7 separate regions of the Homo sapiens genome follow, and all the other regions are linked to region 5. Evidence: promoter capture Hi-C in 16 types of primary human blood cells and fetal thymus (Javierre and others, 2016). All regions are on one chromosome and are shown on one strand. Each heading gives the region's core, a stretch centred on a gene start or on the middle of the fragment in contact. The rest is flanking DNA. Distances are from core to core; before and after follow the strand shown.

What was found. The method cuts DNA at HindIII sites, captures the fragments that hold promoters and counts their contacts. A CHiCAGO score of 5 or more calls a contact.
Region 1: a fragment that was not itself captured here is called in contact with the fragment with the promoter of TGFB1I1 in region 5 in 1 of 17 cell types (neutrophils); the score reaches 6.0 in neutrophils.
Region 2: a fragment that was not itself captured here is called in contact with the fragment with the promoter of TGFB1I1 in region 5 in 2 of 17 cell types (neutrophils and naive CD8 T cells); the score reaches 8.2 in neutrophils.
Region 3: a contact is called between a fragment that was not itself captured here and the fragment with the promoter of TGFB1I1 in region 5, in 5 of 17 cell types (neutrophils, monocytes, M0 macrophages and 2 more). The highest score is 8.0, in neutrophils.
Region 4: a contact is called between a fragment that was not itself captured here and the fragment with the promoter of TGFB1I1 in region 5, in 5 of 17 cell types (total CD4 T cells, neutrophils, total B cells and 2 more). The highest score is 8.4, in total CD4 T cells.
Region 6: the fragment with the promoter of HSD3B7 here is called in contact with the fragment with the promoter of TGFB1I1 in region 5 in 4 of 17 cell types (neutrophils, fetal thymus, monocytes and 1 more); the score reaches 10.7 in neutrophils.
Region 7: a fragment that was not itself captured here is called in contact with the fragment with the promoter of TGFB1I1 in region 5 in 6 of 17 cell types (neutrophils, naive CD8 T cells, monocytes and 3 more); the score reaches 8.9 in neutrophils.

What each region holds. Positions count from the first base shown.
Region 1 is chr16:31,930,149-31,933,306 of GRCh38, reverse strand. No RefSeq gene overlaps it. Among named protein-coding and RNA genes, the nearest start is that of ZNF267, 58 kb to the right of the region's middle. The HindIII fragment of the contact is 8,251 bases long and covers 1-3,158 here.
Region 2 is chr16:31,039,099-31,042,289 of GRCh38, reverse strand. STX4 (syntaxin 4) reads right to left here. Exons shown (of 11, transcript NM_004604.5): 9 at 2,639-2,749; 10 at 2,472-2,567; 11 at 2,126-2,378. The coding sequence ends at 2,487. Among named protein-coding and RNA genes, the nearest start is that of STX4, 7.1 kb to the right of the region's middle. The HindIII fragment of the contact is 8,081 bases long and covers 1-3,191 here.
Region 3 is chr16:31,911,324-31,914,289 of GRCh38, reverse strand. The region is part of intron 3 of ZNF267 (zinc finger protein 267); the gene reads right to left. Among named protein-coding and RNA genes, the nearest start is that of ZNF267, 39 kb to the right of the region's middle. The HindIII fragment of the contact is 1,026 bases long and covers 932-1,957 here.
Region 4 is chr16:31,001,933-31,005,298 of GRCh38, reverse strand. The region is part of intron 1 of STX1B (syntaxin 1B); the gene reads left to right. Among named protein-coding and RNA genes, the nearest start is that of STX1B, 7.0 kb to the left of the region's middle. The HindIII fragment of the contact is 2,126 bases long and covers 455-2,580 here.
Region 5 is chr16:31,470,767-31,473,846 of GRCh38, reverse strand. It overlaps TGFB1I1 (transforming growth factor beta 1 induced transcript 1), which reads right to left and starts at 1,695. Exons shown (of 11, transcript NM_001042454.3): 1 at 1,646-1,695; 2 at 291-406; 3 at 113-165; 4 at 1-12. The coding sequence starts at 1,658. RefSeq lists an enhancer at 816-1,356. The HindIII fragment of the contact is 20,246 bases long and covers 1-3,080 here.
Region 6 is chr16:30,983,553-30,986,456 of GRCh38, reverse strand. It overlaps HSD3B7 (hydroxy-delta-5-steroid dehydrogenase, 3 beta- and steroid delta-isomerase 7), which reads right to left and starts at 1,250. Exons shown (of 7, transcript NM_025193.4): 1 at 1,160-1,250; 2 at 633-804; 3 at 253-408; 4 at 1-34. The coding sequence starts at 798. It overlaps SETD1A (SET domain containing 1A, histone lysine methyltransferase), which reads right to left. Exons shown (of 19, transcript NM_014712.3): 18 at 2,685-2,822; 19 at 1,793-2,607. The coding sequence ends at 2,434. RefSeq lists an enhancer at 1,269-1,781. The HindIII fragment of the contact is 29,451 bases long and covers 1-2,904 here.
Region 7 is chr16:30,964,172-30,967,291 of GRCh38, reverse strand. SETD1A (SET domain containing 1A, histone lysine methyltransferase) reads right to left here. Exons shown (of 19, transcript NM_014712.3): 6 at 2,969-3,120; 7 at 1,831-2,680; 8 at 906-1,691; 9 at 232-408. Among named protein-coding and RNA genes, the nearest start is that of SETD1A, 8.0 kb to the right of the region's middle. The HindIII fragment of the contact is 2,452 bases long and covers 645-3,096 here.

The DNA.
Region 1 (3,158 bases), core at 23-2,522, 460 kb before region 5:
AGGCTGAGGTGGGTGGATCACTTGAGGTTAGGAGTTCAAGACCAGTCTGGCCAACATGGTGAAACCCCATCTCTACTAAAAATACAAAAAATTAGCTCAGCATGGTGGCACGCACCTGTAATCTCAGCTACTCGGGAGGCTGAGGCAGGAGAATCGCTTGAACCAGGGAGGCAGAGGTTGCAGTGAGCCGAGATTGTGCCACTGCACTCTAGCCTAGGTGACAGAGTGAGACTCCATCTCAAAAAAAAAATTGTTATGATTTCTCTTTGTCCCTCTGTTTGAGTGTATTGTTTTATTTAAATCTATTACAAATGTTCTAGTTTTCCTTTTGATATTGATTTCTCATGTTATTCCACTTGGCCAGAGAAAATTCTTTGATTTCCTTTAATCATTTTCAAATTAATTGAGAATTGTTTTGTGACCTAATAATATATAATGTCTCCTGGAAATTGTTCCATGTGCACTTGAAAAGAAAGTATTCTGCTTTTTTTGTGGGGGTGGGTGGAGTTTTTCATACATATTTGTTAGGTCTAGTTTGTTTATAGCGTTCTACCAGTCCCCTATTACTTATTGATGTTCTGCCTGATGGCTGGTGTCTATTTATTATTGAAAATGTGGAATTGAGGTATTTATTTGTTACTGTAGAATTGTTCATTTTCTCTTAAATTCTGTCCATTTTTAACATATTGTATATTTAATATATTTTCATATATTTGAGGGTTCTTCTGTAATATATGCATATGCTTATAATTGTTATATCTTCTTACTGGATTGGCCCTATTATCAATACATTGTCTTTGTCTCTTGTTACAACTTTGATGTGAAGCCTGTTATTTTCTGATGTGAGTATACTAACCACCTTTCCTTTGATTACTATTTGCATGTAATATCGTTTTTGATTCTTTCACTTTTAAACTATTTGAGCTTTTCAATGTTATGTAGACAGCATATGATTAGACGATGGTTTCTATTATTCATTCTGTGGTCTTCATTAAATAGTTTAACCCATTTATCTTAAAGTAATTACTCACAAGAAAGGACTGACTTCTCTCATTTTTCTATTCATTTTCTACCTGTGCTAAACCAGTTTTTGGCCCTTTTTGCCTACATTACTCCCTTCTCTAGTATCCGGTTTTGTACTCTATTACTTTGATTTTCTTCTTGTTTTCTTTTTAAAAAGTTTATTTTAGGTTCAGGGGTACATGTGCAGGTTTGTTATATAGGTAACTTGTGTGTCACAGGAATTTGGCATACAGATTCTTTTATCAACCAGGTAATAAACATAGTACCTGAGAGGTAGCTTTTTGTCCTCATCCTACTCCTACCCTCCACCCTCAAGTAGGTCCTGATGTCTGTTGTTCCCTTCTTTGTATCCATACATACTCAATGTTTATCTCCCCCTAATGAATGAAAACGTGATATTCGGTTTTCTGTTCCTGTGCTAGTTAATTTAAGATAATGGCCTCTAGCTCCATCCATGTTGCTGCAAAGGACACGATACTATTTTTTATAGCTGTACAGTATTCCATGGTGTATAGGTACTATGTTTTCTTTATCCAGTCTATCACTGATGGACATTTAGACTGATTCCATGTCTTTGCTATTGTGAATAGTTCTGTGATGAACATACATGTGAATGTGTCTTTATGGTAGAACAATTTATATTCCTTTGGGTATATACCCAATAATGGGATTGTGAGATTGAATGGTAATTCTGCCTTGAGTTCTTTCTGAAATTGCCAAACTGCTCTCCACAGTGGCTGAAGTAATTTACATTCCCACTAGCAGTATATAAGCGTTCCCTTTTCTCCACAACTTTGACAGCATCTTTTTTTATTTGACTTTTTAATAAAAGCCATTCTGACTGGTGAGAGATGGTATCTCATTGTGGTTTTGATTTGCATTCTTCTAATGATTACTGATGTTGAGCATTTTTTTCATATGCTCGTTGGCTGTGTGTGTCTTCTTTTGAGAAGTGTCTGTTCATGTCCTTTACCAACTTATTAATGGGCATTTTTGTTTTTGCTTGTACATGTATTTAAGTTTCTTATATATGCGGAATATTAGACCTTTGTCAGATGCATAGTTCACAAATACTATTTTCCCATTCTGTAGATTGTCTGTTTGCTCTGTTTATAATTTCCTTTTCCCGTGAAGAAGCTCTTTAGTTTAACTAGGTCTCATTTGTCAATTTTTCTTTTTGTTACAATTGCTTTTGGTGTCTTCATCATAAAATATTTGCCAAGGCCATGTCCAGAATGGTATTTCCTAGGTTGTCTTCAGGGTTTTTAATAGGTTTAGATTTTACATTTAAGTATTTATTCCACTTTGAGTTGATTTTTGTATATGGTGTAAGGGATGGGTCCAGTTTTACTCTTCTGTACATGGCTAGCTAGTTATCCCAGTACCATTTTTGCATTGGGAGTCTTTTCCTCATTGCTTGTTTTGGTCAATTTTATTGAAGATGAGAAGATTAAAGGTGTATGGCATTATTTCTAGATCTCTGTTTTGTTCCATTCTTCTGTGTGTCTATTTTTGGACCAGTACCATGGTGTTTTAGTCACTGTATAGTATAGTTTGAAGTCAGGGAATGTGATGTCTCCAGCTTTGTTCTTTTTGCTTAGGATTACCTTGGCTATTTGGCCTTTTTTTTTTTCATATGAATTTTAAAATAGTTGTTTCTAATTCTATGAAGAATGTCATTGGCAGTTTGATAGAAATAGCATTGAATCTGTAAATTGTCATGGGCAGTATGGCCATTTTAACAATATTGATTCTGCCTATCCATGAGCATGAAATGTTTTTCTATTTGTTTGTGTCATCTCTAATTACTTTGAGCGGTGTTTTGTAATTCTCATTGTGGAGAACTTTTGCATTGTTTGTTAGCTGCGTTCCTAGGTATTATTTTTTCTTTTTGTGGCTGTTGTGAACAGAATTGCATTCTTGATTTCGCTGTCAGTTTGGATGTTGTTGGTGTAGGGGAATGCTACTGATTTTTGTCCATTGATTCTTGTATCCTGAGATTTGCTGAAGTTTATCAGATCTAGAAATTTTGGAGCAGAGACTATGGGGTTTCCTAGGTATATAATTATATTGTCTGCAAACAGTTATAGTTTGACTTCCTCTCTTCCTATTTGGATGCCTTTTATTTCTTTCTC
Region 2 (3,191 bases), core at 270-2,769, 430 kb after region 5:
CTAGCCCAGTCCAGAGCCCGGTCCAATGTGCATCAGCGAAGCCACATCCAGCGCTTACGCGACGCGGTCTCCCACACATGGCAACGCGGGACTGAGCCCGCCAGACTGGGCAGCTGGGAGCGGCGGCAGCGGCAGCAACAGCAGGGGCCTGTAAGATTGAAAGTGGGATGGACTGGGCGGCTGCGACGCAGTCCCCAGACCTTGGAGGTCAGAGCTAGGCGCCGCCCTACTGCAAGTAGGCAGGTGCCAGGAGCCGGCTTACCCTTTAAAACTAGGTGTCGGGGGCCGGGCGCGGTGGCTCATGCCTGTAATCCCAGCACTTTGGGAAGCTGAGGCGGGCGGATCACGAGGTCAGGAGATCGAGACCATCCTGGCTAACACGATGAAACCCCGTCTCTACTAAAAATACAAAAAATTAGCCGGGCGCGGTGGCGGGTGCCTGTAGTCCCAGCTACTCAGGAGCCTGAGGCAGGAGAATGGCGTGAACCCGGGAGGCGAAGTTTGCAGTGAGCGGAGATCGCACCACTGCACTCCAGTCTGGGCGATAGAGCAAGACTCCGTCTCAAAAAAAAAAAAAAAATTAGCCGGGCATGGTGGCGGGCGCCTGTAGTCCCAGCTACTCTGGAGGCTGAGGCAGGAGAATGGCGTGAACCCGGGAGGCGGAGCTTGCAGTGAGCCGAGATTGCGCCACTGCACCCCAGGCTGGGCGACAGAGCGAGACTCTGTCTCAAAACAAACAAACAAACAAACAAAAACTCTAGGTGTCGGGGAACAGGAGCCACGTCCACTCCAGAAATTAGGCATCAGGACTAGGAGCCCTTAGAAATTTAGGCGGTGGCTCACGCCTGTAATCCCAACACTTTGGGAGGCCGAGGAGGGCAGATCACGATGTCAGTAGATCGAGACCATCCTAACACGGTGAAACCCCGTCTCTACTAAAAATACAAAAAATTAGCCGGGTGTGGTGGCGGGTGCCTGCAGTCCCAGCTACTCGGGAGGCTGAGGCAGGAGAATGGCGTGAACCTGGGAGACGGAGCTTGCAGTGAGCTGAGATAGTGCCACTGCACTCCAGCCTGGGCAAAAGAACAAGACTCTGTCTCAAAAAAAAAGAAAAAAAGAAATTTAGTCAGGGCTTGGATTTCAGGTACCTTATGGAAGAAATCAGAGGTCAGGCTTTTCTGCTGCCACCACCTGCTTCAGCCAGGTAACCCTCAGCAACCAGGTGCACTGATCCAGGATCACTGGCTCTCTATGCTGCTGCTGCTGCTGCTGCTGCTACTGATGATGATTGCTATTATTTTTGAGACAGGGTCTCGCTCTGTCACCCAGGATGGAGTGCAGTGGGATGACCATGGCTCACTGCAGCCTTAATCTCCTGGGCTCAAGCGATCCTCCCACCTCAGCCTCTGGAGTAGCTGGGACGACAGACACTTGCCATCACGCCTGGCTAATTTGTAAAATTATTATTCTCTAAAGAGAAGAGGTTGCCCCATCCTGCCTAGGCTGGTCTCAAGCTCCTGGGCTCAAGAGATCCTCCTGCCTGGGCCTCCCAAAGTGCTGGGATTACTGGTGCGAGCCACCACACCCTGCCTAAACGCTTATGTAAAAGATGATGCTTTTGTTGGTCACAGGGCCCGGCCTCCTGTGCTTTCTGACTGGCAACCTCTTCCCCAGCTTAACATCCCACTCCAATGTCATCCCTGCTGAAACCAGACCATCCCTATCCACTGCATCCAAAGTGACAGCCTCAATTAGGCATTTTTTCATGGTGCCTCTTCCTCTGGGCCACAAGAAGGCCCACTGATGCCACCCAAACCCCCATCTCACCTGCGTCCCAGCCTGGCCTGGTCAGCCTCATCATTTCCAAGACAGATACTCACAGTGGTCCTTTCCCGGGGACAGTACTGAGCCAGGAGCTAGATGCCGGTGTTACCCCTCCCTGCCCACCCATTCCTATGGGGGTGCAGAAAGGCAGAACCAGCCTGCTGTGGGCACAGCACCCCTGGCAGTTTGACCTGAGCAGCCAGGGCCAGACCTGGCCCTGGGGACGTCCAGGAGGTAAGGAGGTTGGATGCCCGGAAGCCTTGGGCCAGCCCTTCCAGGAACACACGTGCACAGGGCTTTCTATGCTCTTTTTTTGTTTTTTAATTTTTTACAAAACCGTGTGTCCCGGCCAATCAGGACAGTGCAGGCCTCCCCCAGGCATTGAGGCCTGAAGGAGGAGGCCATCATGAATGAGCAGCTGCCAACCCCAGAAGAACTGTCTGCCCTTCTGCATAGGGGCCAGTGTGAGGAAGGGGTCCGACTGGAGGCTCTGCCCTGCCCCCCAGGCTGCTGGGAGAGAAGGCCAGGCCCTGGGTTCCTGGTGCTCCTAGTGCCTGTAAGGAAAGGAGGGAGAACAGGGTCTGAGGGAGGAGGGAGGGCTGGGGCCAGGGCTGGGGCAGGCCAGGGGGCAGCCCACAACATCTCACCAACAATGTGCGACATTATCCAACCACTGTGACGCCAATGATGACTGCTAGGAGGACGACGGTGATGGACACACAGATGGCAATCAAGACTTTCTTCTGTGGGAGAGGAGGGGGTCAGGGAAGTCACACAGGGTGCCTGGGGCAGTGGCCGGGCCTGGGAGGCTCACCTTCCTCGCCTTCTTCTGGTTCTCCAGGGCCGTCTTGACGTGCTCCTGCCCACGTTCCACGTAGTCCGCTGAGCTCAGGATGTTCTTCTCAATCCGATTGATCATCTCCCCCTGCTCAGAGGATGGGGTGGTTCAGGGAGGTAAGGATGCCTTTGCCCACCCCACCCCAGATGACTGAAGAACATTCCTGGCAGGAAAAAAAAATTGCACTAACAAAGACAAGGGCAAGACTTGATCTGACAAAAGTTCAGACTCCTTGGGGATGGCTTCCAGGCCCCTTCTATCATGTAGTCCCTTGTCCCCTGCTCACTTATCCCATACAACCTCTATCTGCAGTGGTAGCTTGGAGCTAAGGGCCTCAAATGGCTCATACCTTTCACAGATGGTGAACTGTGCCTTCACAAATCTGTCTGAATTTACCCATTCTTCCAGGCCTATCTACAGCTGCTGCAAAGCCCTCCCTATCCCTGCCTCCTCCTGGCACCACCAGCCTCAGGTCTCAGTACTCCTACTGAATGAGATCTCTTTCCTGTAAGTCTCAGCTGCAAAAGGG
Region 3 (2,966 bases), core at 195-2,694, 440 kb before region 5:
ACCAACAGTGAAGGAAAGGGAGTGCTTGTGCCACCTTGCCCTTGCCCCTCAGCAGCATCTGCATGGCGGGGAGAAATCTGTTCATTTGGGAGACGGAGAGCACAGTGACTAGGGGACTACAATGAACCCAGTGCTGCCCTATCACAGCAGAGACCTGGCAGGATTCATCACCTTCTGACTTAGGAGCTGCTGGTCTCTGAATAACCTACAGTGGTACCCCAATAACACATCATGAACATTGGACTCCGAGATGTGCTGGCTTCAGGTGTGACCCAGAACATTTCCCACTGTGGTGGGTATAGTGAAAGACACCTTCTGTTTGAGCAAAGCAGAGGAAAAAGTAAATGGGATTCTGTCTTGCACCTGAGGTACCAGCTTGGCCACAGTGGGGTAGAGCACCAAGCAGACTCTTAGGGTCCCTGAGTCAGCATTTCTGGACCTGCCCTGCACCAAAGAGTAAGTCCCAGTTGTGGAAGCAGTCATCATAAGCTGACTGAAGAGTGCTTGGGTGTTGAGTGAACATCAGTGATAGCCCAGTGGAAACCCCTGTGGGCTGGTGGTGGTGGCAGACACATTGTGAGGCTCCTCTGCCTGCAGAAAGGGGAGGGAGGAGTGGTAAGGATGTTGTCTTGTAATTTGAATGCCAGCTTAGCTGCAGTAGAATAGAACACGAGATAAATAAGGCTTCTGACTTCAATACCTGGCTCCCACACAATATCTCTGAACCTACCTGGGGCCAAAGGGAACTCACTGCCCTGAGGAGACACAAACCTGGCTGGTTACCACCTGCTGATTGTAGAGGCCTAAGGTCTTGAGTAAACTTAGGTGGTAGCCAGGCAGTAATTACACTGGGCCTTGGGTGACACCCAGTGCTGTGCTCACTTCAAGTCTAAATTAGCACAGTCCCAGTGGTGGGGGCAACAGGGAAGCTTATGTCATCCCACCCCAGCTCCAGGTAGCTCAGCATAGAGAAAGAAATTCCATTCGTCTGGAAGAAACTAAGGGAAGAGAACAAGAGTCTCTGCTTGGTAATCCAGATAATTCATCGATTTTAACCAAGACCAACCACATGGTACCTCTATGAGTCTGCAAGAACAACGTTATTGAGTTTGAGATCCAAGTACCTTCAAATTCTGGAAAGCCTTCCCAACAAGGGTGGACACAAAGCCCAGACTGCGAAGGCTACAATAAATGCCTAACTCTTCAATGCCAAGACACAGATGAACATCTACACATTAAGACCATCCAGTAAAATATGGCCTCACCTAACAAACTGAATAAGGCATAAGAGGCCAATCCTGGAGAAACAAAATAAGTAACTTTTCAGACAGATGATTCAACATAGTTGTGTTGAGGAAACAAATTCAAGATAAAATAGAGAAGGAATTCAGATTCTATCAGATAAATCAAACAAAGAGGTTGAAATAATTAAAAGGAATCAAGCAGAAATTGAAGTTAAAAAAGCAATTGGCATACTGAAGAATGCATCAGTCTCTTAATAGCAAAACTGATCAGGCAAAAGAAAAAATTATTGAGCTTGAACATAGGCAATTTGAAAATATGTAGAGAAGACAAAAAAGAATGAAGTATGCCTACAAGATTTAGAAAACACCCTGAAAAGGGCAAATCTAAGAGTTGTTAGCCTTAAAGAGAGAAAGAGACAGGGGTAGAAAGTTTCAAGAATACGATCAGAGAACTTCCCAAATCTATAAAGATATCAATATCCAAGTACAACCAGGTTACAGAACACAAAGCAGATTGAACCCAAAGACGACTACCTCAAGACATTTAATAATCAAACTCCCAAAAATTAAGAATAAAGGATCCTAAAAGCAGCAAGAAAAAAGAAACAGCATACAATGAAACTCCAGTACGTCTGGCAGCAGATTTTCAGTGGAAATCTTACAGGCCAGGAGAGAATAGCATGACATATTTAAAGTGCTGAAGTAGCAAAGCTTTTACACTAGAATAGTCTATCCCGTGAAAATATTCCATAGCCATGAAGGAGAAAAAAATGACCTTCCCAGACAAACACTGAGAGATTTCATTAAAACCAGACCTGTCCTACAAGTAATACTAAGGGGCATTCTCTTCCATCTGTAAGAAAAGAATGTTAATGAACAATAAGAAGTCATCTGAAGGTACAGAACTCATTGGTAATAGCACAGAGAAAAACTGAGTATTATAATATGGTAACTGTGGTGTGTAAAATACTCAAGTAGAAATACTCAATGATGACTCAATACAACTACAACAATGTTTCAAGACAAAGACAGTACAATAAGACATAAAGAGAACCAACAAAAAGTTGAAAAATGGGGAAGCAAAGTTAAAGGTAGAGTTTTTACTAGTTTTCTTATTGCTTATTTGTTCACTTAGGCAATCAGTGTGAAGTTGTCAGCAGTTAAAACAATAGGTTATAAGATAGTATTTGTAAGTTTCATGGTAACCTCAAATAAAAAAACATACAACAGACACAGAAACCAAAAAGCAAGAAATTAAATCATACCACCAAGAAAAATCATGTTCACTAAAATGAAGACAGAAAGGAAGGACAAAAGAAAGAGAAGATGCAAAAACAAATAACAAAATGGCAGGAGTGAACACATACTTATCAATAATAATGCTGAATGGAAATGCACTAAACACTCCAATTAGATGACATAGAATGGGTGAAAAAAAGAAAAAGGAAGACCCAATTATCTGCTGCCCACAAGAAATACACTTCATCTATAAAGATACACATAGACTGAAAAATAAAAGAATGGAAAAATGTTCCATGCCAATGAAAACAAAAAAAAAGAACCAAAGTAGCTATACTTACATCAGATAAAATATATTTCAAGATAAAAACTGTGAAGACAGAACAAATGTCATTTTATGATAAAGGGATCAATTCAGTCAGAGAATATAACAATTTTAAATATCCATGCACCCTACACTAAAGCACTGAGACATAGAGTATT
Region 4 (3,366 bases), core at 268-2,767, 470 kb after region 5:
CTAGGTAGTCTGGTTTGCCCACAGCCTGCTTTCTTTTTGGCTGGCCTAACTTCTTCCAGAAATGGATGCTGTACTCATTACTAAATATGCATCACTCAGAGCACGGAGGGCCCTTCAGAGCAGGGTGGGCACTTGCACCAGTCTGCTCATTTCAGTGATGAGGGAACTGGGGCCCAGGGAGGAGTCTAAGTTTGCCTGGGGTCACACAGCAAGACAGACGGAGGCTGGGAGGGATGGCCTCCTGTCCAAGCTCTTCCTGCAGCCCTGGGCCCCTCCTACTGATTTTCTGTCCTGGCTGCAGGAGTTCAGCAGTCCTGAGGACATGGCAGAGTGGGCTTTTTAGGACCAGGAGGGACTGCCATCTGTCAGCAGGACAGAAGGGAGAGAGCCTGACATTTAGTGCCAGACAGTCCTGGGTTCAGGTCCTACCTCTGGCCTCATTTGCTGTGAAGCTTTAGGCAGGTCAGGCAACCTCTCTGAGCCTGTTTCCTTGTCTGTAACATGGAATCAGCCGGTGGTAGGCATTGTTACCACTCAGCAAATGCAGAGACTAGGCTCAGGGGTAGAGCCAAATGGTCTTCTAACAGCTGACCTGGGGCAAGTTCTTTTTTTTTTTTTTTTAAGAAACGGGGTCTTGCTCTGTCACCCAGGCTGGAGTGCAGTGGCACAATCACAGCTCACTGCAGTCTCTTGACCTCCTGAGCTCCGGGGATCCTCCTACCTCACCCTCCCAAGTAGCTGAGACTACAGGTGCGCACCACCATGCCCAGCTAATTTTTGTATTTTTTGTAGAGACATGATCTTGCTATGTTGCCCAGGCTGGTCTTGAACTCCTGGGTTCAAGTGATCCTCCCACCAGAGCCTCCCAAAGTGCTGGGATTACAGGCGTGAGCCACTACAACTGGCCTGAGTTATTTAGCTCTATGCCTCAGTTTCCCCATCTATAAAAGGGGGCTATAATAATACCTCCAAGGGGACTGTTGTAAGAATGAAATGGATAGATATATGTGGAGCACATAGAACAGTGCCTGGCACATTGTAAAACATCATCTAAATATTTGCATAAGTATAATTATGTTGGCCAATGGTCCTTACAGAGTCCTAATGAAGATTAAATGAGATAACAAGAATGTAAGACTTACGCAAAAAATACCATCAAGTGCTCTTGTTTTGCTAGGTTGTCCGGACACAGAGCCTTCCCCAGATTGGGACTTAGCAGGCGCTCACTGAGAGGGAAAGTAACTGGGAGCGGAAAGTCAGTGGGGGAGGTAGCCCAGTCTGGAGCCTAACAGCGGTCTTTGAGGGGCTGGATGCCCATGGTTTTCTGGCCCTATGTGGCCTGGGTGCCCTTGGGCAAGTCACTCTCCTTTTACCCCCCTGGCTTCCTGTTCCCTCATCTGTGAAATGGGGACGATGATGTTTATGCAGCTTTTCTCTCAGGGCTGGTGGTGCTGAGGATCAAAACGGATTATGGATGTAAAAGTGTTTGTAAATGGTAGAGGATTATTAGCTCCCAGCTCTCTTTGTATTTATTATACCAAATAAACCACACTTGGGCCTTCTATCATTCTTCCTGTCTTGAGGGCAAACAAATAGGTAGCCCAGGGTGCTCCAGAGATGAACCTAAGGGAGGTGGCTCCAAGAACAACAGGAGAGATTGAAATTAGATTTTAGGAAAGACTTCCTAACATTAGCATGGGGAAGGGAGAGACACAGAGAACAGGAAAGTCCTCAGGCACCCGGGCCAGGGAGAGGCCGCATGACCTGCGTGAGGCTGGTGGCTGAGTGAGTGGTTGAAGGGAGAGAAAGGGCAGAGGAAGGCTTTTGGCTCTAGGGGAAGGAGGCCTTGTAGCACAGCTGGATTTTGAGGACAGAGAAAGTGAAGAGCATCATGGTAGGCCGATGGGTCCTCAGAGGTGAGCCCAGCATCCCAGAGCCTCTCAGGGTCCCCAACTTATGCCACCTGTGCCGCCCCACTTTCTGGGGGCAGCTGTGAGCCAAGACAGAGGAAACTCCCTTTCCAGGCGGATGGTTGGGATTGTCTGGAAATTCAACACAAGTGCTGAACACATTTTCCGACACAGTGTGGGCCCAGCGTCTGTGTGAAGACTCCCTGGAGTTCCATTTGGGCTGGGCTTAGCAGGGAGGCTGGGGTGGCTCAGGAGCGTGGAGCTGGAGGCCCCCCAGGCTGTGCTGGCTTTTCCTGGGGCTGTGGGGCACTGCTGATCCTGAGTTTTGGCTGTGTGGACTGCACCTAGGTCCCATCTGGCCCTGTCTAGGTTCAATCTGAGCTGTCTGGGATCTGTCTGGGATCCGTGTGAGCCTCGGCTAGTTCAGTCTGAGCCTGTCTGGTTTCTGTTAGGCCCTGTCTGCGTTCCGCTGGGACCCTGGCAAGCTCTTCTTTTTGGATTCCAACTGAGTACACCCCCAGGTGGATGCTGTTTGGATCCTGTCTTGATTTCACCCAGCCTCTGGGGTTTGGATTCTGTCTGAGCTCTGGCTGGGTTCTTTTTGGAAATCAGAATGAACTCTGTATACATTTCCACTGGGGCTGATCAGGGCTCCAGATGTCATTAAGCTTGATGGACTCAGATTTTGCTGTCAGACCTCTGTCCCAAGCAGAGAAGGACTCAGGTGTGTGTAGCACAGGGCACCTCCCCTACAGCCTCTCCTGTCCAGCTCTGAGTGTGTGTGCAGACATGAGGCTCGGAGAAGCTGGAAGAACAAGCCCAGTGAGCCCTCCCAAATGTCCTCAGGGGTGCAGCTGAAAGCCAGTGTGTCCACACATGTCAGTGCGGCTCAGCTGTGAGTCTGCGTGCGGGTGAACGCCAGCATCAGTGCATCTCCGTGTGGGTGTCGGGGGGGCCTATTCCTGTGTGCCTTGGGTGTCAGCTCTTCTGTCTGTGTCTCGAGTCTGTCTGTCGGTGGCAGTGGTGCTGTGGGTGGGTAAATCTCTTTGTGTCTCTGAGCCCTGCGGGTGGAGGGTTGAGCAGCTGCAGGTTGCAACTGGGAAATCCAAGCCAGCAAGAGTAGGTGGGTGTGAAGTTGGAAGGGGCTGGATGAAAGCAAGTGAATCCACTGCGAGGGAGAGCCGGCTGGGAGGGGAGGGAGAGTGGGCGGGAAGAGGGGGGCACAGGGCGCGAGGGAGGTCGGGGTGCTGCCCGTATCTCTTATCCAGCCCTCACTGCTTGCTCAACTTGGCGCCTGCCGCTGGCAGTGAAGTGACCTTGCACAGGGGACATGTCTGGTCAGGTGGGGCAGGAGAGGAAGAGAAGGAGTAAAGTGAGATCTGGGCAGGAGAGCAGGAACAGTAGGGAGATCCAGGCTCCCGGGACTCTAGTCCAGGACCCTTCATGGAGCCCAGGG
Region 5 (3,080 bases), core at 446-2,945:
TTGCATACCGTGCTGGGAAGCAGAGTGGGAGCCTGGGTTCAGGGGTGGGGAATCCAAGCCTCCTCACCTGAGACTCAGTTGGCCCCCATGCCCTGGTTTCCAGGCCCCTCACCTGTACAGGTGGTCCTTGTCCCCCGAGGCTCCTGAAGACTCCCCAGACCCTGTCTACAGAGCGGAGACGCACAGGTGGGATGACAGGCCTGCACTCTGCCCCACTGAGGCTGAGATCCCCATAGACCAGGCCGAGCCTGGCCCTAGTGGCTGCCCCAGTCCCCAACATCCGATCTCACCTGTGGCTGGTGGCCATAGGATGGGGGAGGGGTGAGAGGCTCCGCAGGGCGCTCTTTGGGAGCCCCTGACCTTGGCATGTGCGAGGTGGTAGTCTCCAGGTCAGAGAGCAGGGCATCTGCAGGAAGAGGCCATCAGGGAGAGAGACAAGGGTCACGGTTAGATCAGAAGATAAGGTTCCCAGTGGGCAGTACTGGAGAAGGACAGAAGCCAGTATTAAGAGAAGAGGTCACAGGGCCAGAGCCAGGCAGAGCACTGCTCGAAGGGTAGCAAGGAATATTTATGACCAGAATATCCCAGTTGCTCACGCTTGGAGCCAAGCACAAACCCAGCCTCCTGATTATTTTATTCTCCCCATCTTCTCTGATGCAGTCAAAATGGGCTCTTCACCCAAGCCAAATTTGGCTCCCCTCCAAATTGCTCCATTGGCCCAGTGCCTGGCCCTCAGCTTTCTGATTGGACGCTCTCTCTTCCATGCTGGTTAACTCCTCCCTCTACCTACACAGGCCCCGCCCAGCCTGGCCACTCCCAGGCCCCTGAGTCCCGCCCTGGGCTCCTCACTGGCGCTTCGCTGGGACCTGCCTTCTGATTGGCTGTTTATCTGCGGTACAGCGTCAGTTACCCCTACCGAGCAGCGCCCTCTACCGCCAGGGGCCGGAAGCCCCTCTCTCCCGTGGAGCGCACAGCCTTCCAGCCCCAGGCTTCGCAGGGAGGACGAGATACCTGGGTCCCCCTTCCGGACAAGACACCTCTCTCCATCCCTGCATCCCCAGATCCGGGTCTTTTGAGCCCTTTCACTTCCAGAACCCAGAAGTCCTGCCCTCAGTCTTCGTCTCTGAGCACCCGCGTGAAACCCTGAAGCCTTCGCGGGCGCCTAGGCACTCCTGAGTTACTATTCTCTTCCTTGCCTCAAGGACCTGACCCTCACTGTGCTCAGGAGCCCTTAACTCCTCCTCTCCCAAAACTCTGGTGCAGGCAGGCCCGCTTTTTTTCTCCAAAACTTGATGCCAGACTTTCCCGTGCCCTCTACTTTCCCGGTCCCCGGGCCGAGGCCCCTTTAACCCCTCCCTCCCCAGAGCCCCGCGCCCGGGCGCCCGCGGGCGCCGCACCTCCCGTTCCATCTGCCGCAGCCTGGGATGGAGGAGCACAGCGAGGGAAGAAGGGAGGGAGCGGCCGGCCCAGGAAAGGCAGGAAGGGAGAGGCAGGAAGGGGGACGTGGAGTTGGAAAGGAGGCGCGGGCAGAGGCGAAAAGCAGAAGTAAGAAGACAGGGATGGGGAGATGCGGGAGAGCGACGGCGGGGAGGCAGCTCTGGGCAGCGGTGAGGGGCCACGGACCCGGGGATCCGGCCCCACTCACCCAGGTCCTCCATGGCGGGGCGCGGGCCGGTGGCGCGGGGCGAACAGGGCGGGGGCCGTGTCCGGTGGGGGCGGGGGGCGGGGGACGTCCGGGAGCTGGAAGCCCGGCCGTGACCATGTAAGGAAGCCGGGACCCGCTGAGATGGGGATGGGGGGGCGATGAACGGGGGAACCCGAGGTGGGGGCGTGGAAAGGAGGGAGCGCCCCGGCCCACCCGAGCCCAGCCCGCCGGCCTGCCGCGGAGGCGGCCACACCCCAGCCTTGGCCTCAGCTGCAGGGAGCCCCAGGAGGCCAGAGCCAGAGAGAAGTGGCTTCTCCAGACCAAGCCCCAGAGCCGCTCCCTAGGGAGACTTACAGACACGGACTGAGGCCCCCAAACAGACACCGCTCAAAGCTAGCGCCTGAGTCCTAGACAAGAGCCTCCCTCCCACCCATGCCATTCCTGGGAGACTTGTCCCAGACGGAATTTTTGGATTGGTAGCAGGAGTGATATTCTAAGGCTCAATTAGACCTCAGGTTCGGAGACCCTCCCATCGGAGACCCTGACAGATAAATAGAGGCCCCAAGAGGCATACATACCAGACACAAAGAAATCTGAGGGACGGGGACAGACACAGTGAACCCACCCACAGACTCTACACTAGGACCTTCCCTCCAAGACTTGGTCATGGACACACGTAAACTCGAACCCGGGCGCAAGCCCCTTGCAAATTCGGGGAAAACACTCCCAGGCAACCAACCCCCAGCCAGCCTGCAAGACAAAGCCCTTCCTCAGCACTGAGGTGGCCCAGGCCTGCTCTGAAACAGCCCTTTCCCAAGTTACTGATGAACTCAGAGCAGAAAGCAAGACACAGTCTCCAGCCACAAAGTGGCAAGGCCTTCCCTGGACTGAGACCCTGAGAAACGAGGTGGAAACGAGAGGCCATAGAGGTAGTTATGGACAGACAACTGTGCTGCAGCCACTCTTCTGGACAGATCTGAGCACTGGAATGTGAGTATCAACCCAGCAGCAAATCGGAACAACCTGGGGAGCTTTTTAAAAATGCGAGACAGGCATGGTGGCTCACACCTATAATCCTAGCACTTTGGGAGGTCAAGGCGGGCAGGTCACTTGAGGTCAGGAGTTCGAGACCAGCCTGGCCAACATGACAAAACCCCATCTCTACTAAAAACACAAAATTAGCTGTGCGTGGTGGTGGGAGCCTGTAATTCCAGCTACTTGGGAGGCTGAGACAGGAGAATTGCTTGAAACCTGGAGGCAGAGGCTGCAGTGAGCTGAGATTGTGCCACTGAACTCCTGAGCAACAGAGGAGACCCTGTGTCAAGAATAAAAAAGAAAAAGAAGAAAAAATGGGCAAACGACCTGAATAGACAGTTCAAAGAAGTTATATAAATAGCCAATGATTACATGAAAAGATCCTCAACATCATTAGTCC
Region 6 (2,904 bases), core at 1-2,500, 490 kb after region 5:
GTCTGCACACAAGCCTCGATCACGTTCCGGGTACCTGGCAGAGGAGGAGGCGTATCCAAGCTGCAGCTTCTTCCCTCTCTGCATCTTCCTCCTCCCCATCCCAGGTCCAGGGAAAACCATGACAGGTCAGGGGAGGCGGGGGCAGGGCTGTCAATAGGACAACTTGTCCCAGGGGAGTCACCGGAGGTCAAGGCCAAAGACAGAGTGGGGAACAAACAGGCAAGATGGCCAGGAGTGTCCAGAGCTCCTCACCCTGCACGTTGACCTCATGGATGGTCTTGGGACTGGCCCTGCCAAACACGTCTACCAGCCCAGCCGTGTGGATGACCACATGGGCTCCGGCCACAGCTGCTGCCACCTCATGGGCCTGGGTCACGTCCCCCTGGATGGCAGTCACCCTCACAGGCCCTGGCCGGGGTTGGAGGACACAGGCCATGTCAGAGCTGGGGCCAGAGGCCAGAGGCTGGGTTCATCTTCCACCCTGGAGTCACGTTCCCAATGTGACTCACTCGACCCATCCATGTGGACAGAAACCAGCATCATCTGTTCCACTGCAGGGGTGGGGATCCCAGCTTGGGAAGGGTTGGGGAAGCGTCCACACCCTCTCCACCACAAGCTCCCCCAACAAGAACCTGTCTTCAGCTCCTCCAGCCAGGGACCCAGGTGTTGGTCAAAGACCCGCAGCTCCCCGAGCCGGGGCTCCCGCTGCAGCAGCATTCGCACCACGTGCTCTCCCAGGAAGCCACAGCCCCCTGTGACCAGGTACACCAGCTTCTGGGCCTGTGCAGAGTCGGCCATGCCTGGCTGGGGAAGAGACCTTGGCTCATCCAGGGGCTGGCTGCCACCTGCTGCAACCACCTGTTACTGCTGGAGGTGCCCTGGAGCGGTGACGAGGCTGGCGTTTGCGGGGAGGGCAGAGCTGATCCTGGGAGCTGCAGCAACCAGGCCACCTGCCGTCTGCCCCTGCTGATGGCTGAGTTACGGAGAGAGGGGCGGGCTTGGGGTGCAGGAAGGGGTCAGGGTTTAGGGAGAGAGATTTGAAGGCAGTAAAAGGGTGGGGAGGCCAGGAGTTGAGGGAGGTGGAGGGAAGGTTATAGGAAGGTGGGAAGGGCCGGATGGAGGGAAAGGCCACCTGGGCACTGGCAGCGCCTCTGCCTACCTGCAGCCGCTATCCCAGGGTGCCCAGACTGGCCTGGAGGGGCCCTCTTCTTTCGTCCAGGGCTGGCCGGCCCGCACACCGTCCTTCCGCTGGCTCCTCCTTCTCCCTCCTGCCCCATTCCAGGAACAGAGACCCGCCCAGCCACAACCCCCACCACTCTTGCCCCAAGGCGCCCCCTGGCGGCCGCTCTGTGCTCCACTGGCATCTGGGTCCAGCGGAGAACTTGGTGGGGATGAAGCTCGAACTTGCAGAGTGGGCTGAAGGGGTCTGGGGCTGTGGGTGGAGCCAGCGGTGACCTCATCCCACAGTGTGACCTCAGGCCTTCCCTCCTGCTGGGCTTCCCAGGAGGCCGGAGGTCCAGCTGCAGCTGTGATTGTAGGAAGGGGAGGCCTGACCTTGGCACCACCCTGGCGGGCACTGGTGGGGTATTCCTGGTGCGGGTGCGGCTGCTGCAGCCTGTCAGGGGGTCCGAGACAGTCTCGGACTGTCTCTGCAGGTCTGGGCTCTTGCCTGAAGGCCCCTTTACCTGCCCCACACTTCAGGTACCCACTTTTCCCTCTCTTCAACTTGCACAACCCTCCGTGCCCTCTACCCCCAACCCCTCGCTCCTGCCCAAATACACCGACCAAACACTTTTGTACAATAAAGTTTAATCACAATTATAAAAATGTGGCGTCGGGTTTGCGCTATTAACATATGTACAGTCCAGCCCAGCAAAAGGGACCCACCCCGCCATCCTGGCCTGGCTGAGCCGGGGAGTGACACCAGGGTGGAAGGGTGACCCTCAGGGTCTGGCAGGAACAGATGAGGCAGGGTTCCAGGCACGGAGTCCCCAGGACTGGGGGTGCAGAGCCCCCCCAGGGGGAGAACATGGCCACTGCCCCAGAGACCCCTAAACTGGGGAGGGGTACACGCAGGGCGTAAGGGGAAGTCCCCATTAACACAAAGCAAGAGGACTGTGTAGCCCCCCAGGACAGAATCTGTACAGGCCGGCACCCCAGGTTTCCACAGGAAACAGCTGCTGGCTGCTACAAAACATTTACAGCTTCTTCTCCGCAAAGAAAAACAATCAGGGGGTGGTGGGCAGGGGTGACAGGAGAGGCAGAAGCTGCCTCCAGGGACTGAGGCTCCCTCGCTGGGCTTGGGGCCCCCAACCCCACGCTTGGAGATGGGGGCATGTGGGCCCTGCTGAGCCCACTAAGGCTGGGGGGGTGCTGGGAGCTCAGGGCACCAGGGGGAATAAATAGGGGTGTGGGCACCCATCCTGCCCCACCTCAGTTTAGGGAGCCCCGGCAGCTCTCTGTGCCACACAGACACGGGATCTTGTTGTCTTCCAGTGGGAACTTGTAGTCGTAGGTGATCTCCTCGTCCACGCCAATGGGCTGCTTGGAGTAGATCACGATCTTCTTCTGGGACTCGATGGTGATGACCTTGGCGTAGCAGTTAGGCTGCGGATGGAAGGGCGTGTGAGCCGTGGCCACCCCCACCGACCCCCAACTCCTGCCCCGGCTGGCCCCTGGCGCACCGTGCAGCAGTGGTTGATGAATCTGGCCAGGTTGCCACACTTGGTGGCATCGATGATGGTGTCGTGGTCCACCCGGAACAGGTAGCTGCTGCCAATGCCCTCCTGCACGTAGCGCTTCTCCCGCATGTCGGCCACCATCTGCCAGGGTGAGATGCGATGGTCAGGGAAGAGTCCCCCACTTCCTGCCCCTGAGCACGCCTGCCAGCCAGCACCCCAGGTC
Region 7 (3,120 bases), core at 621-3,120, 510 kb after region 5:
ACCCCAGCTACTCGGGAGGCTGAGGCAGGAGAATCGCTTGAACCCGGGAGGCGGAGGTTGCAGTGAGCTGAGATCAGGCCACTGCACTCCAGCCTGGGCAACAGAGTAAGACTCCATCTCAAAAAAAAGAAAAAACTCAAACACTCATGGTTCCTGACCACCCCTACCCCAAGGAAGGGGGCCCCCTCTCCCTCTCCCCACCCTACCCCACAAAACGACAGTTCTGAGTACCTTGAATGAAGGCAGCCGCAGGGCCCCTCTCAGCCCTGACCCAAAGGCGAAAGCCTCGATGCCCGTAGTGCCCCCGCTCTTGGCCCAGTCCACGAGGGACAGCAGGCCAGGCTCCTTCAGCTTCGTCTTCTCTTTATCCTCCTCCTTGGCTTGCTGCTTGGCCGCGTTCTGGAATGGCTGCAGGCAGCAGTGGGGCTGAGCCCCAGCGCCCAGAACCCAGGCATTCCCTCCTGCCTGAGACCTACTCCCGGACCCCAGGAATACAGAACGCATCTACTTGCTGCTCCATATCTTGGTCACACCTGTCCCAGCCCCCGCACGGCATTTTCTCAAAAGTCTGTCATTTCGCCCACCAGTCTTAAGAAATAGCCACCATTCCCACTTCACAAGTGGCAAAATGGAAGACCAAAGCTTGAAGAGAGCTAAGGGCCTTGTCCACTGCAAGCCAGCAAGGAATGGAGCCAGGACAAAGCTCTGCTGCCTCCCAGGCCCATCTGTGCCTGCTTCTCTGTCCCCTCAACTCCCCTGCCCACCCAGGGTGGCCTGCAGGGCCTGCGGCCTCTCTCCACTCGCCTCCATCACCTGTCTCCTCTGAGCTGTGCAGCCTGGAGGAGCCAGAGGCCCATTTCCTCCTGCAAAGCCCAGGGCTCCCCGGTCCCAGGCGCTGGCCTCACCTTGGCCTTCTCCTCCTTGCTCTCCCACCACTGGTCAAAGGCTCCGAAGGCCACGTTCTCCACCATCTTGCGGTTGAGGTCTCGCTGCATGATGCTCTTCATCTCCTGGACCAGCATGGCGAGCACACGGCCCACGGTGCCTGCTGTCGGGAGGGTCTTGCCCTCTGCCAGCTCTGCTTCTTCCCTGGGTGGCAGCCGGGCCTCCTCTCCCGAGACTGAGGAGGAGGGCAGGGGCTCGGCTGCCATTGGCATGGGCAGGTGGTAGGCCTCCCGTGAGTATGCCCCTCTGCCCTCCTGCCCCTGTGCATATAGAGCATACGGCAAGCCGTAGGCTGCCTCCTGCGGGGGTGGAAACGGGAGGAAGGCCTCCCCAAAGGCCCCACCGGGGGGGCCAGCTGAGGCGGCAATCAATCCCTTGCCCTGCCGCAGCTGATGGAGCCGAGTTAACATCTGGGTCTGCATCTGGAAGGACATGGGCATCCCTCCCCACTGAGCCCCAAGTCGGTCCATGAGCTCCAAGGAGTTCACAAAGTCATAGATGTGCGGGGGTGGTGGAGGAGGTGGGGGGTACTCAGGGGGCGGCGGCCCATCAGGTCTGGGTGGGAGGAGGTAGGCAGGTTGGTGGGGAGGATAACCAAGAGGAAGGGACGCCAGGTAGGGAGGAGGAGGCGGCGGGGGAGGGGGAGGTGGCGGAGGCTGCTGAGGGGGCGTCGGGGCCGGAGGGGGTGAGCCACCCCGGTCGTCGTCGGAGATCTCCATGTCGTCTCCAGAAGAGCATGGAGAAGCCTGCGGGGGCAGAAGAGGGTCACAGAAGGCTTCTGCCTGACCCAAGCCCTACTTTCTCATCTGGTTCCCTTCCCTCTCCCCTAGGCCCAACCCTGACTCCCAGAGCCCAGGTGCCTCCTCTGGCTGACCCCAACCTCACCTGGTTCTGTCCATTTGCCTTGGGAGACTCCCGGGTAGCCCCTGGCTCCCCGCTCCCTGTAGGTGCCACATCCTCAAAATTAGCTGGGGCCGGAGGGGGTGTGCAGGGCCCATGCCCTGACCCAGAAGGCACCTCACTCCCTGTATCTCTGGCCCCAAGGACCATGCTGCTGTTCTCTTCCTCCTCCTCTGTGTCAGAGGCCAAGAAGGAAAACTTGGAGCGCTGCTCCTTCAGCAGCATCTCGATGCGGGAATCCAGGCTGCTGTGCTGGGCGAAGGGCACACTCTCATTGGTGGTCTCCGGGGCTGGGGAGCCAGAGCGGGCAGGGGAGGCTGGGCGGGGGGAAGTCCGAACTTCTTCTCTCTCAGGGCTGGGCCCTCCTCCACCCCCGCCTCCACCAGGTTCTGGAGGCTCCGGGGGTGGAGCCTCTGAGGCAGGAGGCCGGTAGTCCTGGTCGGTGGGCCGGCTGGGCTCGGGGGGCAGGTAGGAGGTGTAAGAAGGTGGGAAGCGCTCAGCTGTATTTTCAGCAAAAGGGGCTCCAGGGGGTTCCTCCCGTGTGGCCCGGCGTGGTGGGTAGGAAGTATGGCGCTGGTAGCGATTCCAGCTTTCATAATACGCTGGGTAGTTTGCATCAGAACTACGAAACTGAGAGGACGAGGAGGAAGAGGATGACGAGGAGGACGAGGACAATGAGGAGGAAGAGGCGGAGGATGAGGCAGTGGCTGCAGTGGTGGCGGCGATGGCCGTGGAGGCGGTTGTGGAGGCTGAAGATGCAGAGAAGTGGCGGCGGGAAAAGGCATCTTGGTAGCTGTTCTCTGACCGCCGGGGCTTGAAGGAGGTTGAAGTGGTGCTGGAGAAGAAGCAGGGGAGTTAGCTGGACTCAGCTCTCTATGACCAAACCACAGCGTACTGGGTCCCAGGGCCCAAAGCCCCTCTATGCTGCCCTCCAAAAGAAGAGCTATATGTTGGGTTCCTAGCTAGTGTGTTCCCCGAGGACAGCAATTTGTTGACTGAATCCACAGAGAAACTAGGACAAATTATTTCCAACTCCCTCTTGGAGACAGACTCTGGGCATCTTCTTCCCAGTGGCAGCTCCCAGACTTTGCGGGCGGGGCCCCAGGCGGGGTCTGCTCTGTACCTGCTGGAGTAGGCAGAGTCCTGAGAGTAGGGGGTGCTGCCCCGAGACGTGTAGGGGGTTCCTTGGGAGGACTGAGGTGTGAACTGGCCAAAGGAAGATGGGGTATCTTGTCGGCTGCTGGAGAAGCTTGTGTCCTGGGAGCAGGGGGTGCC